7 separate regions of the Homo sapiens genome follow, and all the other regions are linked to region 7. Evidence: promoter capture Hi-C in 16 types of primary human blood cells and fetal thymus (Javierre and others, 2016). All regions are on one chromosome and are shown on one strand. Each heading gives the region's core, a stretch centred on a gene start or on the middle of the fragment in contact. The rest is flanking DNA. Distances are from core to core; before and after follow the strand shown. Region 1 overlaps PSMG2 (proteasome assembly chaperone 2). Region 2 overlaps LDLRAD4 (low density lipoprotein receptor class A domain containing 4). Region 3 overlaps FAM210A (family with sequence similarity 210 member A). Region 4 overlaps FAM210A (family with sequence similarity 210 member A). Region 5 holds the start of MIR4526 (microRNA 4526). Region 6 overlaps LDLRAD4 (low density lipoprotein receptor class A domain containing 4). Region 7 holds the start of LDLRAD4 (low density lipoprotein receptor class A domain containing 4).

Region 1 (2,815 bases), core at 62-2,561, 490 kb after region 7:
GTTACAGTTATTTTTATGCTTTGTCTTGTCAATTCTGGACCAGAATTAAAAGTGCACTACCATTATAGTCCTGAAGGATTCTGCATTTGTCTATATTTAGTTTGCCAGTGAGCCTCATATTTTCTTTTTCTTTTTGGGACAGAGTCTCGCTCTGTTGCCCAGGTTGGAGTGCAGTGGCATGATCTTGGCTCACTGCAACCGCCGCCTTCTGGGTTTGAGCAATTCTCCTGCCTCAGCCTCCCGCATAGCTGGGATTACAAGTGTGTGCCACCATGTCTGGCTAATTTGTTTTTTTGTATTTTTAGTAGAGATGGGGTTTCACCATATTGGTCAGGCTGGTCGCGAACTCCTGACCTCAGGTGATCCTCCCACCTCAGCCTCCCAAAGTGCTGGGGTTATAGGTGTAAGGCACTACACTCGGCCACTCCCAATCTTTGCATACTGGCTTTGTACAGGGCAGACCTTCACCAGCTAGCCCAGGTAGAGATTCTGAAACCTCTTAAATGTTTTTCCAAGTTCAACTTTTTAGGATTGTGTTATTTCCCAACTGAAGGTTGCTGGTTTTTCATCTTGTAATCTCTTGCTCCCTCTGGTGTCTGTCTTCAGAATTGCACGTTCCCTAGTGCTGCAGCTGCAAGTCGCCCCTTTGTTCTCAGTGGCTCTCTGGCAAAGCATGACAGCTTCCTATAAGCACCCCAAGTTAGATGAGATGGGCAACAGTCCCTTGGGCAGCACTACAAAAAGCTGCAATGCTGGCGTGTAAGTTCCATTCCTCCTGGGAGAGAAAATGCAAGTTGGGTGATTTCTCTTGGTGGTGTCCAGCCACACTGGCCTGTCTGTGGTACTACAGGCTCTGGTGGCACGGCAAACGATCCTCCAACTCTCCCGTGCTTTTAGCAGACTCCAGACATCCAAAGGATGCCAGTTCTGTCAGTATTCCAAGTCAGACAAGACGAAAGAGTCAGAATCTTGGTCACATGCTCCAACGTTCTCTACCTCTCTCCCCCTCACCGAGTCTGCCCCCTTCAACCCAGGGAAAAGCCAGGAGCTGGCGTACTCGCCATCATGCTGGGCTGTCATCCTGGGTGGAGTAAAGTGAAATGACTCTTCTTACTCATTTCAACGTGGCTGTTCTTAATTTTGCACTCACCTGGGGATACTGCAACTTAACTGGTTTCTGGTATCCTGGTCTATAAATTAAACTGGTGTCTCTGTGGGGTAATGAGGACTGGTACTTCCTATTTTGCCATCTTGCTGATGTCAACCCCCATTTCATATTTTAACCAAAAGGGAAACAGAAATAGGCCACAGAATCCAGCATGATTTACATATCAAAAGGAAACCTTTCCGGAGTGCTGGGAAGTAGTTGTATCCTTAAATATTACAAGCCCTTGTGTTACAGATGAGAGAGCCAAGGCACAGAGGTAACACAGTGAAATCGTACATCCCAAAGACTAGGGGTGAACAGTGACTAGTATGCAGCAGGCACTCGAAAATGATAACTATTTTTATTATTTCTTTTATAGTAAAATTATTCTAAAATGGGGAAACTATCCTGGATTATTGGGGTGGGCCCAATGCAATCACAGGGTCCTTTTATAACTGAGAGATTTGAAGATGCTAAGCTGCTGGCTTTGAAGATAGAAGGGCCCATGAGCCAAATAATATGGCAGCCTCTAGAAGCTGGAAACAGCAGAACACAAATTCTCCCTAAGGCCTTCCTCAGGAGCAGTGCCCTGCGATCACCCTGATTTTAGTCTCGTCAGACCCACTGTTGGATTTCTGACTCCTAGAACTCAGAAGTCAGAATTTAAAAGCAAATTTGTGGCTGGGCATAGTGGTGTAATGCCTGTAATCTCAGCACTTTGGGAGGACATGGCAGGAGGATTGCCTGAGCCCAGGAGTTTGAGACCAGCCTGGGCAACATGGCAAGACCTCGTCTCATTTTACTTAAAATACAGAATGAAAATTAATTAATTAGTTAATGAAAAAATTAAACTGGTGTGTTTTAAGTCACTAAGTTTGTGGTGATTTATTAGAGACAAACTAGGAAGCTAATAGAGAGTCTGAAATTAAAAAAAATACATTTAAGACAAAATTACTTAGGAAATAAAATTTTATTGTACAAAATTTACATTTGGTGCATATGATGAAAAGCATGGCAAAGAGACCCTTAATCTTTTTTCTTTGATATTTACTGTGAAAGTAATTTCCTAATACCAGATCATACAATTTTTTTGTATAGAATGTTTAACAGCTGTGTTGGTAGTAAGTGTTTTGGGTATAAGGTATAAAACAGAAATTAGATCAGAAAAGTGCAGGGGGAAGACCACTGCCAAAGAGTAATCTCCAAGAACTTGGTATTTTCCACCGTGAGGCAGATACTGTGGGGTCATCGCTCTGTAATTGAAGAACAAAATATTTTAATCTTTAAACTTTACCATCAAATCTCCTTTTAAAGTGAATTATAAAACTCTCCTTTTGTGTTCCTTTTGGTTGGCACTTTTATAGCCAGGTTTTATTGTTAAGGAAAAATAAAGTTTCTTTGTCTTCATGTCAACTGAAGATAAATTTCTTTAAGTTCCAAATTATAAAGATATGCCAGAAAGGCTGTAGATGAAGTTTATTAGGGAAAATCACATTCAAAAAGAATAGGGATTAAAAAAAAAATCAGCATTATGTGATTTGTATCAATTTGTTCTTGGCAAAAGCATGAATTAAAAAGCTAGTTACCCATCTTAGAAAGCAGCCTTATGCTCAGTGTTCTGTTATGCCTAAAGGCTAACTCACTTCCCTGGGTGTAATGCTCTCATTT
Region 2 (3,003 bases), core at 116-2,615, 370 kb before region 7:
ACAAATGTAAAGCCCCAAACCAGACTCAATCTCCAGTGCAATTGATCAGTAAGCTTTCCTGAGCTTTTAATGCATTTCCAGGTCCAGCAGGTACAGAATGAATCAGTCAAGGGCAGGGAGCTCCTTGGGTCTCGAGGCTAATCACGCACAAGAAACAAGATGTAGCCTTGTCAGCCAGAACTTGGTTTTGGGTTAAATTGTTTGCAGAGATCAGAAATGCTGTAGATTTGAAGAGGAAAAGACACCAGTGAGGACTGTGTTGGACAGAGGAGGGGTTGCAGCAGAGCTGGCCTTCGGGAGCTGCAGGGCCGTGTACATTCTGAACAGTCACAGGCACACAAGAAGTGGCATGCTCACATGCGCCATGTTTCTGATTTGGGGCCATTTGATTTTCTGCTACGTATGAGTGGGCTCTCCGTGTGCAGGCGCACACACACAACACGTGCACATACACGCACACGCACACACACACACTTACCCCCCACATACACATACCAACACACGCACATACACCCCTATCTCCCCCACACTCCATATGCACACACATATATACACACCTATCCCCCTCACATGCACACACTTATACCCACACACCCTCCCATACACAAACCCTTACCCACATCTCCTTCCCCCGTACTCCATATACGCACATGCGTACCCACACCCACGCACACCCACACATGCACACCCACGCACATGCAGTCACACACATGCACACTCACACCCACACATGCACACCCACACACATGCAGTCACACACATGCACACTCACACACATGCACACCCATACACATGCACAGCCACACACGTGCACACCCCCACACACGCAGCCACACACATGCACACCCACTCGCACACCCAATGCCTGCCTTGTCTTTCCCCACTGGCTTTTGTGACTCAGATTGCAGGGCAGGCCCAGCACCCCCGGATCAGAGACCCCGTCTGCCTGTCACTCCTTGGGCCCCTCCATTCCCTCCCTGCATTCACCTCTCCTGGGCGTCATAACCTCTCAACACCTCTTTCCCTTTCCTCCCAAACCCTCTTCTCCCTTCTCTGAGCTGCTTCTCTCCTTTAGACTTTCCTTTCTTTCTGACTTCACCATCTGAAGAGTGTCAGGCCCTACCAAGCAAACTGGGCCATGCCTAAGGGGACACTGGGGGAAAGGGCCATGCCTGAGGGACCCAGCCTGGGGGAAAGGTGGGAGTCCAAGGCCACAGGGCTGCAGGTCTCATCCAGGGCTGACTCCTGTGTAAGAGGACACAGTGGCAGGCCACAGCCATCCCAGGAACACACCAGCAAGGCTCCCCAAAAAGCCACGGTGATGGGAGCGGAAACCCTGGTCAAGAAATAAGAAGCAACTCCTGCAGTCTCTCCCTGGGTCTCCACGGAGGATTTGCAAACGAAAATGAACAGCTGAAGCCTTCCTAGGTAAAACTCAGTGTGCCATGGGGCCCCATGTACACAGACCAAGAGCCCACACAGAAAAGGCAGCTTGCAGTGGCATCCAACCATCATTTCACCTGCCTTCTCCCATCACAGTTTGGGGACAGAAACCAACCACAGAAGAAAAAAGATGGCAAGCTGGGCATGCTGGCTCATTTCTGTAATTCCAGCACTTCAGGAGGCTGAGATGGGTGGATCACTTGAGGCCAGGAGTTCGAGACCAGCCTGGCCAACACAGCAAAACCTCATCCCTACTGAAAATAAACAAATAAAAATAGCTGGGCATGGTGGTGCAACCCTGCAGTCCCAGCTACTCGGGAGGCTGAGGCAGGAGAATCATTTGAGCCTGGGAGGCGGAGGTTACAATGAACCAAGATAGCGCCACTGCACTCCAGCCTGGGCGACAGAGCGAGACTCTGTCTCAAAAAAAAAAAAAGAAAAAAAGAAAAAAAAAAGAAAAGGAAAAAGATGGCAGAGTGCTAGATGATTCCGCAGAGCTTTCTGAGTGAGCACACAGCTGAACGGGTGCATCATGAAATGTAAATTTTGCTGGACTGTAGGATTAGGGAAGCCACTTTCTCTGAAACAAGGTCAAGATAGTTTCAAGAAACTAGCGGTGACATGAGTGGATTGTGTCGACAGCACAAGAACAATTCAATCCTAAGAACACAGAGGCCAAAAAGTGTTTTCAGAAATGGAAGCTGCGTACAAAAACACCCGGCGAGTAGCAGAGGGAGAAAAGGAACTTGCTGTCCCTTCGCTTGGTGAGGTAACAACCAGAGACCCTAAAAAAAATAACATGCTAAGGGCAAGGGAGGAAACTGAAATTTAAAAAATAATGAATCGTTTTGATCACATATTTTAAAATACATTCCTTAATGAAGCCCCATCTGTAAATTTATTTGTAATATTTCACTGAAAAAAGATAAAATTCCAAACATTTTCAGAAAATGAAGAAATCAATAGATTCATTTCCCAGCCTTCAAATTTGTTATGTTATGTATAAATCTCTGTGTAAAAAAGTATCACTCCCACTGGTCCATTCAGAATAGAGAGGTTCAAGATGAAATTATTGAAAAGGAGAAGGAGAAGAAAGCCCCTCCCAAGCAGGTGCTAGAGAAGCCACAGGCCCCTTACCCACGCACAGTGAGACCACTTAGAGCATACATGTCACCAGCTTTCAGCTTCAAGCCAAAATAATTCTGTCTTTTCACAGTATTTTCACAAAGCTTCTCAATGGGACAGGAGGACAAAGAAATTATTCTTCTGAGAATGGTTTTTTTTTCCCGATATGAATAATCTCAGCACCACATCCTCTACAGGAACCAAGAAAATGGTGCGACTCATACAAAAAGGCTTTCTGGATTCCAGATGCAGGGTGTTCCAGAAGTCTAAAATAAAGAAATTGTTGGCAATGTAGAGAAACAGCCATCCAATTTATATGAAAGAGATTCAAGATCAGCTACCGGCTATTACTACATAAACTTATTTGAGGACTAACTTTTCAAGATTGAAAGTGACCTCCCCCCTTTTTGTAGACATTCTAAAGCTAAGGAAATA
Region 3 (3,125 bases), core at 397-2,896, 480 kb before region 7:
AAATTTCCTATTACCCAACGTTAGCCAGGCCAAATGGCTGATATTGTTGGCATTTAAACTTTATCAAAAGTAACCTCACAGGTGCTCTTAGAAAGGAGAATTCCGCAGTTCCTGGAGGGGAAGAGAATCAACAAATGGTAACAGTTATGAAGATATCAAACAGGAAAGAACTCATTCCCTAAGCCAGGTATTGGACCCGGATCACCACTATGAAAGAGAAAACATGAGCTACTGAGCTACAGCACTGGGCAGCCTCCATTGCCCTTTCCAGAAGGAGTCTAGAGTAGTTAATTTTGAGCTTGCAAAGGCTTTTAACTACTCAGGATGATTTTTAGAGCTACCCGTGACATGAACCTTAAAATTCCTGTTCCCTGGAAGGCAGAGACCAAGAGTAAGTGTAGCCATGTGGTCACAGGATCAAGCTCCGAAGGAAATAAAACACGATGGAGACCTCGTACAGTTTTTTTGTTTGTGTGAGGGACCTGCAGCAAAGTTCGTTACTGACCAGCTTGCTGGGCCGTCTTGAGCAGCGGGCTTATGGGGTTTCAAGCCCGTGTTCTGTTCTAAGTTAGCTGTCTTTATGACAGAAGGATACAGGAAGACATAGCAAGCATACCAAATTGGCTGCAGCTTAAGACTAGCCTCATAAATCCTTTTTCCCATTACTCAAAACTTTACAAGAGATAGTGATTTTTACCATTCATTCAACCAGTTTGCACAGGGAGAGAGAGGTAGAAGTCTGACTGGTAAGAAAGCCTTACCCTTTTGCTGGCATGCCAGGCTTCTGAGTTCCCTTCCTCTGAGTGGCCCTGTGACCTGGCTGGCTGCACCACAGCCTTGGGGGCCAAGCCGCCACACAAAGCAAAATCATCTTTTTCTGTTTTGTGGAACCACGGGTAAAAGTCTCTTAATTTTGCAAGTTGCTGCCCAACCAGCTGCATGGGGGCGCCAAATTATCGAACTGGCAAGGTTCAAATTTGCCCCTGATTGGGCCCTGTCATCTTTAACCCATTTTTTATCCAAGAGAGACTTTACTGACAGGAGGGCCTCTAACCCAGTTCCATCCTTTACTCAAGTAAAATGTACCCCATAACTTATCCAAAGTCAGCCAATTGGTACTGCAGTCTATTTCCTTTGGATCTGGATAATAACTAAGCTAAAAGGTTAGTAGATTTAATTTCTGAGAGACCTCATTTTTAAATGCACTTCAGTGCATTGTGGTTTATTCAGAACATTCTACTGTAAGTTAGCTTTAGTAAGATTTTGCCATTCTGTAAGACTTTGCTGCTTTCTCTGCCTAATGTATAAGCTGGAAGGAACTTAGATTTCCAGAAATTGAGGATCCTATTTTGCCTAAAATGTTGGCTATAGTCTCAGGTTCCCTTGATTAACTTAGCCAATGATTTTTTTTTGCCCCTACTTAAACACACAAGAAAAATGAAACAAAGGGGTAGAACACAAAAATCCTTGCAAATTTTTAAAAGCCAAATTTTACAACCCCTGCAATATTACCATTTACTATCAGTTTCTTTCTGACCCAGTCAGATGTAAGAGGCCTCTAACTGGATCCAAACCAGTTAATTACCAGATCTAATCTGATCCTGAACCCAGTTCGATTTCTGTTGCGATTTCCAAACCCAGTTTGGACCAGAAATTTGCTCAGAGAAACTCAAGAGCTCAAAACACAAATCTGTAGAGCTCCGAAATCTGAGAGAACTTACCATGATCCCCAGCTGCTCTGAGGGATCAAAGGACACAAGTGGGTCCAGCAGGTACCTTGCTTGTTCATTCGGAGCTCCTGGAGATCATTAGAAGCTCTATTTCAGATCCCACTTCTGACACCATCTGTTAAAAACTTAGGCTGGATTACATTTAAAGGAGTTTAATTGAGCAATGAATGATTTGCAAATCAGGCAGCCCCCAGGCTCAAAGCAGATTCAGAGAGACTCCCATGTAGCCACGTGGTGGGAGATTTATAGACAAAAAAAGGGAAATGATATACGGAAATCAGAAGCAACGTATAGAAACAGCTGGATTGGCTATAGGTTGGCATTTGCCTTATTCGAACACTTAGCAGTCTATGAGTGGTTGAAGTATGGCTGGCCACTGGAATTGGTCAAGACTCAGCTATTGTACAGGTGCATACTCCTAAGTTTGGTTTTCAGTCTTGTCTGCCTCTTAAGCTAGGTTACAGTTCACAAGGACTCAAATATAGAAGTATGGAGTCCTTCTTAGGCCATATTTAGTTTGCTTTAAGAACTTCAAATCTGCCTTCCCGAGAGGTTTGGAGATGAAGATTTTAAGGATTCTGGACAAGTGATGGGCTAAAGTGTGGGGATTGCTGATTAATCGAGAAGTGAGAGGTAAAGTCTGGTGACAGGGAGATGAAGAAACTACATTCCTTTGCTGAGTTAGTTCCTTGGTGGGGGTCTTCAGACAGTTTGGTGTCAGCTGTTTTGCTGGAATTCAGGATCTGGAAAACACCTTAACCAATTCTTAGGTTAAAAGGTCCGGTGTCAGAGATTCTGTCTATAGGAACAGCAGGGAGTAGGTGGTTCAGCATGCTATGTGACTCTCAGCAGCTATAGGGAAGTGGGCCAGAGTGCACCAGTGCATGCATCCTGGTCAGGTCCTAACTATAATTCTGCCTAAAATCTGGCTTGTAAATCTTATTAGTTTCTCCAATGGAAGGGTTATCAAATTAATTGAACCCAAGGTGGGAACTTGAATGTATAGCCTGTTGAGAAGTATGGGTAACAACTTACTACTTGTGATTTGCATCTGAAGTGGGGAGTAGGAGTAGTCTTGTGGGACTGAGCCCTTGATCTGTGGATTCTGACTCTTAACTCAAATAAGACAGTGTTAGAATTAAATTGAATTATAGGGTACCCAGTTGGTGTCCTCTAGAGTATTGCTTGATGTGTGGAGAAAACTCCTTCACATTTAGTTGTAGAAGTATTCTACATTGAGTGTGAGAGTAGAGAGAGAAAAAGAGTTTTTTTACCCATAGTGTAGGATTTTGCATGGTCACCCAAATTAAATAATGGCAAAAGTTTAGATGAAGGAAGAATATGAGCTTGGTTTGACCAGGTCATAGATGAGAAGATGAAGAAGGGAGCTAGAAC
Region 4 (2,970 bases), core at 84-2,583, 450 kb before region 7:
CCAACTCCTGACCTCAGCCTCCCGAGTAGCTGGGACTACAGGCGCCCACCACCACGCCCAGCTAATTTTTTTGTATTTTTAGTAGAGATGGGGTTTCACCATCTTAACAAAGCTATCATTAAATCATTTGCTTGTAATGAAATTCAGCCGTTGTCAGCTGTGAGCGTTGCGGGGCTGGTGGGGTGTGTTTGAGTATGTAAGTGTCTATTTCCTGTGCTCTAACAGTGACTATTTCAGTTCTAACCCTTCAATTGCTAATTGGATGAGGGAATGGCCTCTTAGATTGTCCTTGTTTTGACTTATCTGCTAAGGCGAGAGAATGTCTGGGTTTGCCACACAGTCCCGCAGGGACCCCTGCTCTTTGCCAGGATTTTTATATCAAGTACTTAGTTTGGCCAAATTTAGAGTATAGTTTAAAGGGGAAAAAAAGTTTGTATTTGATGAGTCTAATTACTATATTAGAATGCTTTTTAAATGAATATGCTGTGATTGGAATCTCTTCTTGGGGGCCGGGGAGAGTGCTGAGAGATGCAGCTGTGTCTCTGCTCTCTGCAGTCTTGGGCAGGCAGCACCGCTGTCTCCTGATACAGAGGGTTGAATGCACTGCTTCACATTGATGCCACATTTTCAAATCTAAACATGATTAACATGTTTTTTAAGTATTTATCAAATAATTCACATTTTTGCAGGTTTAAGTGCTGTTTTTTAAGATATTAAACATGTTCCTTGTTTCTTTTTTCTTTTTAACCACTGGAGACTATGTGAAAATCTTGTGTTATATGGAATTTTTCTAAAACAATTTCCTTTTACTTTTCATGTTGCATATTTTCCAGTGGGGATAAATTGGAGGTTCTTATTACTAATAATCCTGAAACTAAAATTTGCTTTTCCTGCATAGACATCTTTTGTTAGTCCATTTGAGTTTTGTTGCCATCCAGTTTCATGATCATGTTGTGTTAGTCTAATAGACAATGAGTTACTGCTTGAATGATATGAAATTCTCTAGTAAAAAATGCTCTGAAGATGTGAGAAGCTCTGTTGTATTACTTGGCACCAGGAATGTTACAAAAATGTTGTTGCTAGCATATTGCTAACCTAGTCCTTAAGTTTCAGGGATTCCTGTAATATGTTGAGTTTGGAGTATTAATAGCAGGCTAACAGAATACAGTACCAATATGCCAAGTTAAATAATTGAGAATATATACAGTATAGTTTGCTATGTATAATAGACCTCATTTCATTTACAGTACACCTCACACTTGGGATTAATTCACCTATAACCTCTGTGAACTGCGAGTGCTCGGCAGAAGCAGCCCTGTGTCTTACATGTCTACATTTATATTTATATTTATATTTATTTTTTTGAGACAGAGTCTCACTCTGTCACCCAGGCTAGAGTGCAGTGGCATGATCATAGCTCACTTGCGTCTTGAACTCCTGGCTCAAGTGATCCTCCCACCTCAGCCTGCTGAGTAGCTGGGACTACAGGTGCACACCACCATGCCTGGCTAAAGGCATGTCTGCATTTATGCGAGGTGTGTTGACCGGGTGGGGAGGGAGCTAGGACTGAGATTCGCCTGTGTAAAATGCACAAAAAGGGTTTGCTAAGCAAATTGATATTTGAAATGAAAGATGGATTAGGTGAGAGACTTAGTTTATTCAGGAATAAGAGCAAAACCAACCACATCAAAAAATGTATTTCACTGAGACAGCCTTTTGTACATACAGCAGGGTGCTGTTTACAGATTTCAAGAAAGGAGAAAAAGAATGCTTATACTGAGATTACCTACCTCCCAGTAGTGAAAATAATAAATTTATCCCTTGAAATATAATCGTGTGTTTATTTGTCACAGAATCTACACTTACTTACAAATGCTTTATGCTCAGGATGAAATGGAGATACTGGCTCTCTTGTTTCAGTGATCTTAGATGATAATTCCAGGAATTTTAAAGATATATATATATATATATATTTTTTTTTTTTTTTTTTTTTTTTTTTTTGAGACAGAGTCTCGCTCTGTCGCCCAGGCTGGAGTGCAGTGATAACGATCTCGGCTCACTGCAAGCTCCACCTCCCAGGTTCACGCCATTCTCCTGCCTCAGCCTCCCGAGTAGCTGGGACTACAGGCACCCGCGACCATGCCCGGCTAATTTTTTGTGTTTTTAGTAGAGACGGTTTCACCGTGTTAGCCAGGATGGTCTCGATCTCCTGACCTCGTGATCCGCCCGCCTCGGCCTCCCAAAGTGCTGGGATTACAGGCATGAGCCACCGCGCCTGGCCTTAAAGATCTTAATAGTATGCGCAGAAAGATGTTTGAAGAAAAGAAGGAAATTGTATATTTGACACACTGAGCTTCTTTCTGTGTTCTTAGTGTTGGGTTTGGGTCATTCAGGATTTCTTAACCAATTCAGACATGAATCAGGCTGCTGTAGAAGATAGTAATTACAATGGAATGGACAGAAGATGATTTTTAGCCAATGAGGCAAAAAAAGTCATCTTTCCTGCTTTTTCTGAAATGATATGTTGAGAAGATGTTTTTGTGAGATACACATTTCTGAATTAAAGGATTCCTTCTGAAAATATAACTTGTTAGGTAATGTGGACATATTTTTTCTGTTGGCCAAAGTTCATTTTTTGAAATGGGGGCCTTCATTTATTTTTTATTTTCAAAATTGAGTTTCTATAAGGCCTAAAATAAAATAGATTAAATGTCACCAAAGTTGTTTGTACCTGTTTAAATATCTTTTTTGCAAGCCACTTACATTTTTTGGTACTGAAAGCTCACTACTCAATTGTCCTTATGAGCATGGAGGTGTCTCAGTGTGTCTGATCATACTGGCCCAGATGCCTGAGTGGCACATGTGCACTCAGAGAAGTGGGAGCCTCTTTGCTGCCTGCCTTGGAATTCAACCACCTGAGCCAGAAATCTATAGAACCAGAGGTGGGGAATTTTACCTATTCATTTTGCA
Region 5 (2,964 bases), core at 102-2,601, 390 kb before region 7:
AGGTAGAAAGAAACTTCTTGAGAAAGAGCTTCTCCTCTTCTCAGCTCTGTCCTCAGACCAAACTCCAAGAAGAACCACAGCAAACCCGAAAGAGCATGCATCATCCATAGCAGTTCTTGGGAAATGTACCTTTTTTTAAGAACAGGTCTTTGAACTGAGCCTCCTTCAGTGTGCTGTTGTTCAGGTGGTCACTGGACATAATCAGGTCCTCTGCAAGTGGGAGTCCAACTGTGACGCAGCCCCCCCACGTTCAAAGCATCCCTTCAGCTTCCGGCAATCTCCTCTCCAGGCAGCTCAGAGCTGCAGTTATAGCTGGCATGGGGTGTGGGAGAGTGTGTGAGCGTGGAGGGGGGGGGGGTGTGTTTCTGTCTGCCTCGTTCACTCTCTCTCTACTGTATCAGCAGGGCCCACCCCAGGTGCTAGACTCAAATGCTGTGGCTCCGACCGCAGACTGTGGCTACCAATTATCAACTGCCATCAACAGAAACCAGGAGCTCTGCGGCAGGAAGCCGGCCGTGTCACCGAGCAGAGAATAAGTCCGGGGTCTCCGATCCTGAGACCAGCTGTACACCCAGGGCACTACTGTTTACAGCAACGTCTATCAGTGAGCAGTCTGCACTTCTCAGGTTTGGCCTCACACCTGGACGTGTCACACACACAGGCAAGCAGAACGCAGCTAGACGGCTCATCTTGTCACACTGCGTTCAGTAATCTTTTCAACAGGCAAATATCAAACCAGTCCAGACAGAAAGGAGGAAATCTGCAAGTCTCACACAATACTCCTTCCCTTGATCTCTGCTGGAAGCTTTCAGTGTGGAAGGACCGGAGAGGGCGCTTACCAAGGCAGGACACGCGACAGGCGGGACGCTCACGTTAGGCTCGCGTGCTTCTCCCCTGCAGATCCGCTCCCAGAGCGTGCTCGCCCGGCTGGGAGCACCCACAGCGTCCCTCAGGCTGCGAGCCAGGCTGCGGGCTGTCCTCTTCTGGTGCTCCCTCTCCACATCCTCTAACTGATGGGAGCAGCTCCCAGCGGCTCTTGCCACCGAGCTCTGTACTGGCAAGGCGTGAGGTCCTAACCGCAGCAGGAAACACTGCGCGCTCCTTTCCCCCCGGCTCGCTCTTCCCTCTTGGCTCTCCCATTCATTCCCTCTCCCTCTGCCTCACATCATTATTCCCCATGTATGGTAGCACAAAAACACCACAGAGACTCCTTCAAAGTCAGGATGCTCAATGTTCCTAGGCAGTTTTAGTTTATAAGGATCAGAAATTAGAGAACAGAATCCCAGGCAATTCAAACATGAAAGCAGAGACATGTCTCAGGAGGGCGCTTTCTCCTGGTTCATTTTGTTCAAGCACAGTCTCTTTTCCCCGAGGTCTAAACAGTTTGTTTCATCTGAGTGTAAAACATCTCCCGTGCATTCGGATGCCCCCAGGCTGTGTGAAGAAAATTCAGGGCAGGCTGCGAGTCTGTCGCAGTTTTCAGAGAAAATCACGGGGTGGCCGTGGTGGAAAGGGCAGCCTGCCATGGTAACGCTGCAAATAACCCCCACCACAAGCACTGCCGGGAGCCCAGAATAGCCTTTGTTTTTCCTTATTTAGGGTAAATAGGAATGACATGTGGGCCATAACAATAGTTTTGGCTGTAGGAGGAGTTGTCAAAGCAAAACTAAACTCTGTTGGTTACTACCAGCGTTAGAAGCCAGGACAGTGACGTTAGCGGCCAGCCCTGCTGTCAGCCCAGCACGTCACCTGGGGCATGACAGCAGGGACTGGGCCCTGATGTCACCGCAGGGTCCTCCAGGTGGCTAGAAGACATCACTTTCTCATGTTCTCATTTTTGGGGGCAGGGGCAGAAAAGCAACAGAAGAACCACCCAGAAGAGTTTCCAGAAGCTTCACGTGGATAAAAGGAAACCAGAGAATTTCAGCAAGGAAAGTGACCATTTATTAATATACAGCCGCGAGGGAAATCCGGATGGTATGATTCTTCCTGAGCAATTTCCGAATTAAAAATGGAACTCCCCTCCCTGTGCCAGACTTTCCCTGACTTCTCAGAGTCACCCTGCTGGGTGAATGAAGAGGGAGTCACCCTCAGAAAGAGGCAGCTTCAGAAAGAATTAGAAGCTGCAGCCACTTCAAGCCGCCCCTCCCTGGCTACCAGCGCCCCTTGTCCCTGGAGCCCCGAGGCTCCTTGCCACCTGGGCCAGCACTTCCTGGTCAGGCTCAGTCACATGATAGGCTTGCCCTCAAGCCAGGGCCTTAGTGAGGAGCGCTGTAGGCCACTGTACCTGTCTGTTTCTTAAAATTAGGGCTTTGTGGGGCAGGCACGGTGGCTCAAGCCTGTAATCCTAGCACTTTCGGAGGCCGAGGTGGGCGGATCACCTGAGGTCAGGAGTTCAAGACCAGCCTGGTCAACATGGCGAAACCCGTCTCTACTAAAAATACAAAAATTAGCCAGGTGTGGTGGCACACGCCTGTGATCCCAGCTACTCAGGAGGCTGAGGCAGGAGAATTGCTTGCAACTGGGAGGTAGAAGTTGCCATGAGCCAAGATAGGGCCACTTCACTCCAGCCTGGGCGACAGAGTGAGACTCCGTCTCAAAAAAAAAAAAAAAAAAAAAAAAAAAAAAAAAAAAAAAATTAGGGCTTTGGTGAACTTCATGGAACTGGAAAAGTTCTTCTCTCCTTTGCTAATGAACATATTTGCATTTTGAAATGGTTATAAATAGCCCGCTCTGGGATTTAACATGGTGTAAAATGAATATTTCATATATAAAAAAAGAAAATCAACATTTTTTTCTTTCATTTAACGGCCATCAGCTATTCCCCAGTGTCTCAACACACTTACTGTGTTTGGCTAGCTTCCCTGTCACTGGGCATCTTGGCCATGGGAGCCAATCTTTTTCTTTTCTTTTTTCTTTTTTTGGATGCAGTCTTGCTGTGTCGCCCAGGCTAGAGTGCAGTGG
Region 6 (2,874 bases), core at 352-2,851, 270 kb before region 7:
ATTTTTATTTTTGTGAAGACAGGGTCTTGCTATGCTGCCCAGGCTGGTAGCACAGCGATCCTCCCACCTCAGCCTCCCAAAGTGCTAGGATTACAGGTGTGAGCCACTGCACCCAGCCCGTTCTCCTCTATTTGCCACACTCATTTTCAAGGGAAAGGCAGGAAGAGTGGAGCTGTGGGGATGGAGAAAATGAGGAAGGGGGGTATGGCATGACCTGGTGCTCCCAGGGCACCCCACTGCCCAGGTGACTCAGGAGTTTCCAGGAGAGCTCCATCTTCTGAGCAGCTACCATTTCTCTGGAGGGATCTAAGGCCCTGGGACACCTGCTGGAGGGCCGCCCCAGTCAGTGGAGATCCCACTCCTGAGTAGGGTCTGACAATGCCCATTGGCCATCCTGTGGCCTTTTTGATGAGGCCAGGCGTTCTACGGGGCTGGAGAAGAAGGTGTTTGCCAAGGAGCTGCTACTCCCCAGCTGGACTGCAGGAAGAGTGAACGCACAGGAGCAGGCAGATTCAGACCCGGGGGGGAAGGGAGGACCAACTCCATCTGTTAATACTGCAGCCACTCCACCGGATTACAGCAATGCTGGGCTGTGAAAGGACGTCCCTTCCGGCAGAGGCAACTCGGAACCAGAAGAAACTTTACAAAGATGAGATCCCATCAACAGCCCGGGAATAGGGGAGAAATCCAGGATTCACCTTTCCGTGCACTGGGGTGGATGAGTCCTGTGGCAGGCCACTCGCATCCTTCCTCTGTGCCCCTCAGGCCTGATGGTGTCCTGGCCATTCTGGGGACAAGAGCGTGGCCTGTTTCTAGCTAGACTTGCCCGAATCGGTCTTGTCTTGGTGTCTTGGGTCTTGGTGGCATGGATCTTAGAGAATGACAAGTTGCATTTTCAGTGGGGGGCAAAAACTCTATGAAGGTAGCATAAACCATGCTACTGTATTCATTATACCCAAGAAAAACAGGATTTCAGTGCTAGGAACAATAAAGTCAGCCTCATAGTCATCCATCAATTGAATGATGGAAGCGCCTCTACTTTTCCTCGCACCAATTCATGCAAGCCTCCCGGTGGTGTTCTGCAAATTTCATTATCAGACAGCACCAACGTGCAAAGCTTTGGCCTGACGTGGTGCAGACCCAAACACTGTCACCTGATGGGAAAAGTACCAGGGTGAGAAACAGAAGATCTGTTTTCCTGGCCTCTAGTTCTGGGTCTTGTTCTTTGTAAAATGGGTGTAAAAGTCCCTGCCGGGCCACTTGACATTAACTTTATGACTGCTCATATACAAACGTCCTTGCTCCACACAAATGCTTCTTTTTTTGCTATAAAATCAAACGTTAGCATCTTCAATATAGCTTACTAAATCCCAATCACCAACACTACATATAATCTTTAAAGGAAACAGACAGAAACTAGATTCACTGGCGCCAGCTATTAATTATTTCAAACATATAAAGTATCTCAAAAAGAAATAAGTCAAACTTATTCTCACTCAGTTTCAAGTATGTCTATCTTAGGGCGTCTTTCCAAAAATCTCTGTCGTTAAGCTGGACACACACACACAGGTGCCGGCCCATGGCCCGAGCATGACGGATGCACTCGGTGACAAGCCCATGACTGACAGCCGCCATCTGATAGTGGAGGAGCAGCCGGCTAGCTGTGGGTTCCAGAGGTGATCAGCCACAGATGGAAAAGGGAGGTCTTGGGATGCTTTCATCGTCCCAGCTACCCTGCAGGTGGACATTTAAAGTAAATCATTAACAAATCCCTGTGGCAGAAATACAGTGCACCTCAGCTCACCATCAGCTGCAAGGGACTCTGCCTGGTGTCCCACAGGCTGAGTAAGGGTCTGCGGCCTTTCCCATGAGGGTGGGTCTAGATGGTAGAGAGCAGCCCCCACTACCATGAAGAGGAGCAGAGACGACTTGGCCACCCACTGTGTCCAACTAAATCCCTATGGCAGCCCAGTGATTCACTCTGAGGTTAATTTCCAACATCTGAGAGGTTCAGGCTGGAGATACAGAATATCGTCCAGAGACAGAGGCCCAGATCTAAAGGGGACAGGGGGTGCAGAAGCTTTAGCTGGACTCTCCCTGCCATGCCAATGAGCCAAGGATGTGCAAAAATGCACATCCTGCCATCTCCCTGACAAGCCTGGCCCTCCTCCAGAATGGGCCATGCTGCATGCTTTTAATATTCCATTTACTCCTTTCTGGAACACATCATTTTAAAAAACTTCCCCTGGAAACGTCTATAAACCACAGATGAGGTAAGGTTGAAGAGAGTTTGGGGCTATCATTTTATTGAGGTAAAAAAATATATACATATAGAAAAGTAAACATAACTTACAGTTTTCATAAACTGAAACACCCACGTATATTTTTTGGCTTGGACTGTGATATTTTGAAATAAAAACCTCACAAAAGGATACATAAACTGAAAAAATGTTCCATTTCAATGTAATTTTCTTGCTACCACTTCATAATATAGGTTGGGTATCCCTTATCCAAAATGCCTGGAGTCAGAAGTGTTTCGAATTTTGAACTTTTTTGGATCTTGAAAACTTGCATTATACTTACCAGTTATTCTATTATACATCCACCTTCCTAATCCAAAAATCTGAATCTAAAATGCTCCAATGGACATTTCCTTTGAGCATCATATTGTCACTTAAAATGTTTCTGACTTTTGAGCATTTAAAATTTTAGGTTATTGTTATCCGATTGGGGTACTCACGCTGTGGCTGTTGACAGAGTTATAAACATAGCTGAAGGGAATATAATAAGCAGACCACAGTGGATCACAGGAAGCCATTTGGGTCCGAGAGCTTTCACGGCAGCAGGGCAGATGGAGTGCCCAAAACAGGAGCC
Region 7 (3,026 bases), core at 527-3,026:
AATGTGCCAACAAATTGGCACAAAATCCCTTAATAAGCAGCTGGCACTGGCTGCGTTCCACTGCAGGATTGTGGTCTTGCAAACCAAGCCCATGAGAGGATTCAAGAGACAGCCCTAAAAACCTGCCGGGAAGAGTCTTCTCCAATGTAAATACAAACCTACACGAACCAGGACCATGGCCAACAATGGCAAGCCCTTCCAAGGGTAACAGCAGAATGTTAAGAAATTAGAGAGGTCATTTAAAACAAGGGAGGAAGGTAGCTACAATTCCATTACAGCAAATCCCTTACTGGCATTTACATTCCCAGCCCTAATTCCTAACACTGTGTTCAATGTCAATAGCAAAATGAAGCTCTTAAAAAGAATTAAGCTTTCAAAGATCATAAGGAAGTTAGCCCCCTGTTTTAAAAAGCACTGCTTAGAAAGGTCCATCAAATAACATTTCAAGGGTTGATGGGAAACCAAATATAATTCAATAAATATACATGGGTAATACTCAGACATCCTCATTTGTCTATGTAATGACTCAGATTTGACACTCTGATCCTTGACTGAACACAAAGACTATATTCCAGAAGAATTGTGCAGAGTACAAAGGGAGAGTTACAGATGACAACACACTCGAGTTAAAGACTAGAAAAGACAATACCATATACAGAATGCAGACATGACTTGATGCAATGGCAGTCTCCCTGTGCAGACTTTGCAGAACCTTCTCTGTCATTCAATACTCAGTCCTGAAGCTCCAGGGAAGATACAGAGAGGAGGATGCCATTCTTGGCTAGCCAAACCGGCAGAAAGGGCCGTTTTTAAAAGGAAGCTTCCCAGCACTAGCCCTTCGAGAAGGCACCAACCTCCTTACCAGCCATAGGACCCTATTTTTGAGAGTCAATGCTGCTCACCATCTCTATCCACCTCTACTGCAAATAACTTACTAATACTAGCGCTCAGAACCCACATTCTGTGCAGCTACTCTTACCTCACATCCTACAATGCCTAACACATAGTAGGCCCTCAATAAATATGTATTGCAATGGTAATTAACATTTAGAAAGCAGCGCTGGTCCGGGGATGAGAAGATGCCAAAATAATTAGAAAAGAGAAAAAGAGAAGGGAATAGACCAAGACACAGAGGAAAAGAAAAGAAGCAAATCAAAATTATCTAATTCTAGCTAATTAAAAAATTTTGGGGGAAAAACAAAAATCATGCTAGTTCATGCGGCTATGGGCACACAGCAACCATTCCTGTGCCTGGGCAGAGCTAAGGAGTCCTGCTTGCTTTAAAGAGCTTCTAGCTGCCCTGACTGGCGACGAGGTGTCCCTCCAGGTAGGTGACCCAAGAACGCTGTACTCTCGGATGCGCCTTCCCCCAGTGCCGCCCACCCACCATGCGTCCCTGTCGTCCTGAAAACCTCTGCCTCATCGGGAAACCTTCTCCTTTTCCAATTAAAAAAAAAAAAAAAAAAGTTTAAACAAGCAAATGCCCTCTCCGCCACGATAGCGATTTAACCTAAACCGAACCCACTGTCTTCCACCGGTGTACTCACAGGGCGCGCCCCCAGGCCCACCCGGGGCGGCGCACCGGGAAGGGGTCCCGAGGAAGCTTCCTAAAGGCTGTGCAGGGCAGACCCCTTCACAAAGGCAAGTGCCGGGCCGGGCTGGGTGCTTGTCGCTTCCTGTTTATTCCAAGGTGAGGGGCAGAGAGAAATTCAACACACGCCTGCTTCCTCCGGGGCTCGGAGACCCAGCCTAAGTGCAACAGCAGCAGCCCCAGACAATCGACTTCCCAGCCAATGCCGGGAGCTCCGGGCGGTCCCGCGACCGACGTCAACGCGCGCGGGGGGACCCGGGGGGACGCCGGGTGAAGCGGGCCCGAGGGGCCGGGGCCGGGGAGCGCGCGGTGCAGGATGCGGGACTGAGGGGCTGCGGGGCTTGGCCCGCCCCCTCCTTCCCGCAAACTCCCCGGTCAGGTCCTGCAGGATCTTCCCGCTTCCCGCTGACCTCCAGTCCCTGCCCGCCACGGCTCGCCGAGGCCTAGGGGCGCGGAGACAGTTGGGGCTGCCATCCGCGCGCCCATCCTGGCCTCCGGGCGGTGCAGAATTCAGTCTTGCAACCGCGGGACACCCTGCGCCCCAGGGCACCAGGAAACAGAAAACGGGGTGGGGGTCGGCGAAGTCCCTCCACCGGCGTAACCCCGCCCGCGGGCCAGCCCCGGATCCCCGCCGTGCCCACCGGCAAGCCCACCCGGACCAAGCCTCACAGACCTCGCGCGCTCGGCGCCCAGCTTCTCCCTCCGGCCCCAGCCGACGGCGCAGGCTCGCGGACGTCCAGTTCCCAAAGCGTCCGGTTCCCGAGTCCCCCGCCACCCCTCCCTCCGGAGCGCAGCGGTGAACTTGGGCCAGAAGCCCCGACCACTGCGGCCACCTCGGGTCCGCACTCACCTGGGCCGCCCCCCCGGAGCGGAGGCGGGGACTGCCCGCAGTGCGGCTCCGCGGCCACCGGCCCTGCTGGCCAGGGGGAGGGGCGCTGTGCGGGGCGCGGCAGGGGGCGCGCGGCGGGCCGGCGGGGAGCGCGGCGCGCCGGGGTTCTTTAAGAGCTGAGGACCTCACCCCCGGGCCTCCCCCGCGCTCCCCGCCCTGCTTCCACTTTCCCAGGCACCCGCAGCCTGTCTGGCTGCAGCGGCGGCAGCGGCTCAGTGGCTTGCAGGGGATCCCCGGCCGGCCGCGGCGGCGCGCGGAGCGGGCAGGGCCAACGCACTCGCCTGCTAATCCCGCCGGGCCCGGTCCGCAGCCTCAGCGCGGGGAGAGAGGGGACGCGGCGCTGCGGCCGCCGGGGAGGTGTCCCGCCTCCAGTCGCCGGAGGGGGGAGTGTCCCGCCTCCCGCCGCCGTCGCCGCCGTCTGTCTCCAGCCGTGACTGCGCGCCGCGGCTGTGTCTGTCTCCAACTCCTCCAGTCTCTCCTCCTCCTTCCCACTCCGCGGTGGGGACCCGGCGCGCGGCCAGGCCGCGGGTACCGGGGCCGCCGTGG

Evidence for each region. The method cuts DNA at HindIII sites, captures the fragments that hold promoters and counts their contacts. A CHiCAGO score of 5 or more calls a contact.
Region 1: a contact is called between a fragment that was not itself captured here and the fragment with the promoter of LDLRAD4 in region 7, in 1 of 17 cell types (fetal thymus). The highest score is 5.6, in fetal thymus.
Region 2: a fragment that was not itself captured here is called in contact with the fragment with the promoter of LDLRAD4 in region 7 in 14 of 17 cell types (activated CD4 T cells, M1 macrophages, fetal thymus and 11 more); the score reaches 15.8 in activated CD4 T cells.
Region 3: a contact is called between a fragment that was not itself captured here and the fragment with the promoter of LDLRAD4 in region 7, in 6 of 17 cell types (non-activated CD4 T cells, naive CD4 T cells, M2 macrophages and 3 more). The highest score is 8.2, in non-activated CD4 T cells.
Region 4: a contact is called between a fragment that was not itself captured here and the fragment with the promoter of LDLRAD4 in region 7, in 16 of 17 cell types (naive CD4 T cells, non-activated CD4 T cells, activated CD4 T cells and 13 more). The highest score is 18.0, in naive CD4 T cells.
Region 5: a contact is called between a fragment that was not itself captured here and the fragment with the promoter of LDLRAD4 in region 7, in 13 of 17 cell types (fetal thymus, non-activated CD4 T cells, M0 macrophages and 10 more). The highest score is 37.9, in fetal thymus.
Region 6: a contact is called between a fragment that was not itself captured here and the fragment with the promoter of LDLRAD4 in region 7, in 13 of 17 cell types (M0 macrophages, non-activated CD4 T cells, megakaryocytes and 10 more). The highest score is 16.0, in M0 macrophages.

Annotation. Positions count from the first base shown.
Region 1 is chr18:12,725,024-12,727,838 of GRCh38, reverse strand. It overlaps PSMG2 (proteasome assembly chaperone 2), which reads right to left. Exons shown (of 7, transcript NM_020232.5): 7 at 2,099-2,400. The coding sequence ends at 2,308. Among named protein-coding and RNA genes, the nearest start is that of LINC01882, 23 kb to the left of the region's middle. The HindIII fragment of the contact is 7,922 bases long and covers 1-2,815 here.
Region 2 is chr18:13,587,810-13,590,812 of GRCh38, reverse strand. All of the region lies in intron 4 of LDLRAD4 (low density lipoprotein receptor class A domain containing 4), which reads right to left. Among named protein-coding and RNA genes, the nearest start is that of MIR4526, 22 kb to the left of the region's middle. The HindIII fragment of the contact is 2,619 bases long and covers 56-2,674 here.
Region 3 is chr18:13,699,813-13,702,937 of GRCh38, reverse strand. All of the region lies in intron 1 of FAM210A (family with sequence similarity 210 member A), which reads left to right. Among named protein-coding and RNA genes, the nearest start is that of FAM210A, 25 kb to the left of the region's middle. The HindIII fragment of the contact is 9,088 bases long and covers 1-3,125 here.
Region 4 is chr18:13,662,209-13,665,178 of GRCh38, reverse strand. FAM210A (family with sequence similarity 210 member A) reads left to right here. Exons shown (of 4, transcript NM_152352.4): 4 at 1-1,832. Among named protein-coding and RNA genes, the nearest start is that of MIR4526, 53 kb to the right of the region's middle. The HindIII fragment of the contact is 3,990 bases long and covers 1-2,970 here.
Region 5 is chr18:13,609,940-13,612,903 of GRCh38, reverse strand. The region is part of intron 4 of LDLRAD4 (low density lipoprotein receptor class A domain containing 4); the gene reads right to left. It overlaps MIR4526 (microRNA 4526), which reads right to left and starts at 1,790; the gene lies at 1,704-1,790. RefSeq lists an enhancer at 51-280. The HindIII fragment of the contact is 1,087 bases long and covers 808-1,894 here.
Region 6 is chr18:13,490,092-13,492,965 of GRCh38, reverse strand. All of the region lies in intron 4 of LDLRAD4 (low density lipoprotein receptor class A domain containing 4), which reads right to left. Among named protein-coding and RNA genes, the nearest start is that of LDLRAD4-AS3, 21 kb to the right of the region's middle. The HindIII fragment of the contact is 963 bases long and covers 1,120-2,082 here.
Region 7 is chr18:13,217,510-13,220,535 of GRCh38, reverse strand. It overlaps LDLRAD4 (low density lipoprotein receptor class A domain containing 4), which reads right to left and starts at 1,776. Exons shown (of 7, transcript NM_001378100.1): 1 at 1,548-1,776. RefSeq lists a silencer at 2,616-2,985. The HindIII fragment of the contact is 2,786 bases long and covers 1,606-3,026 here.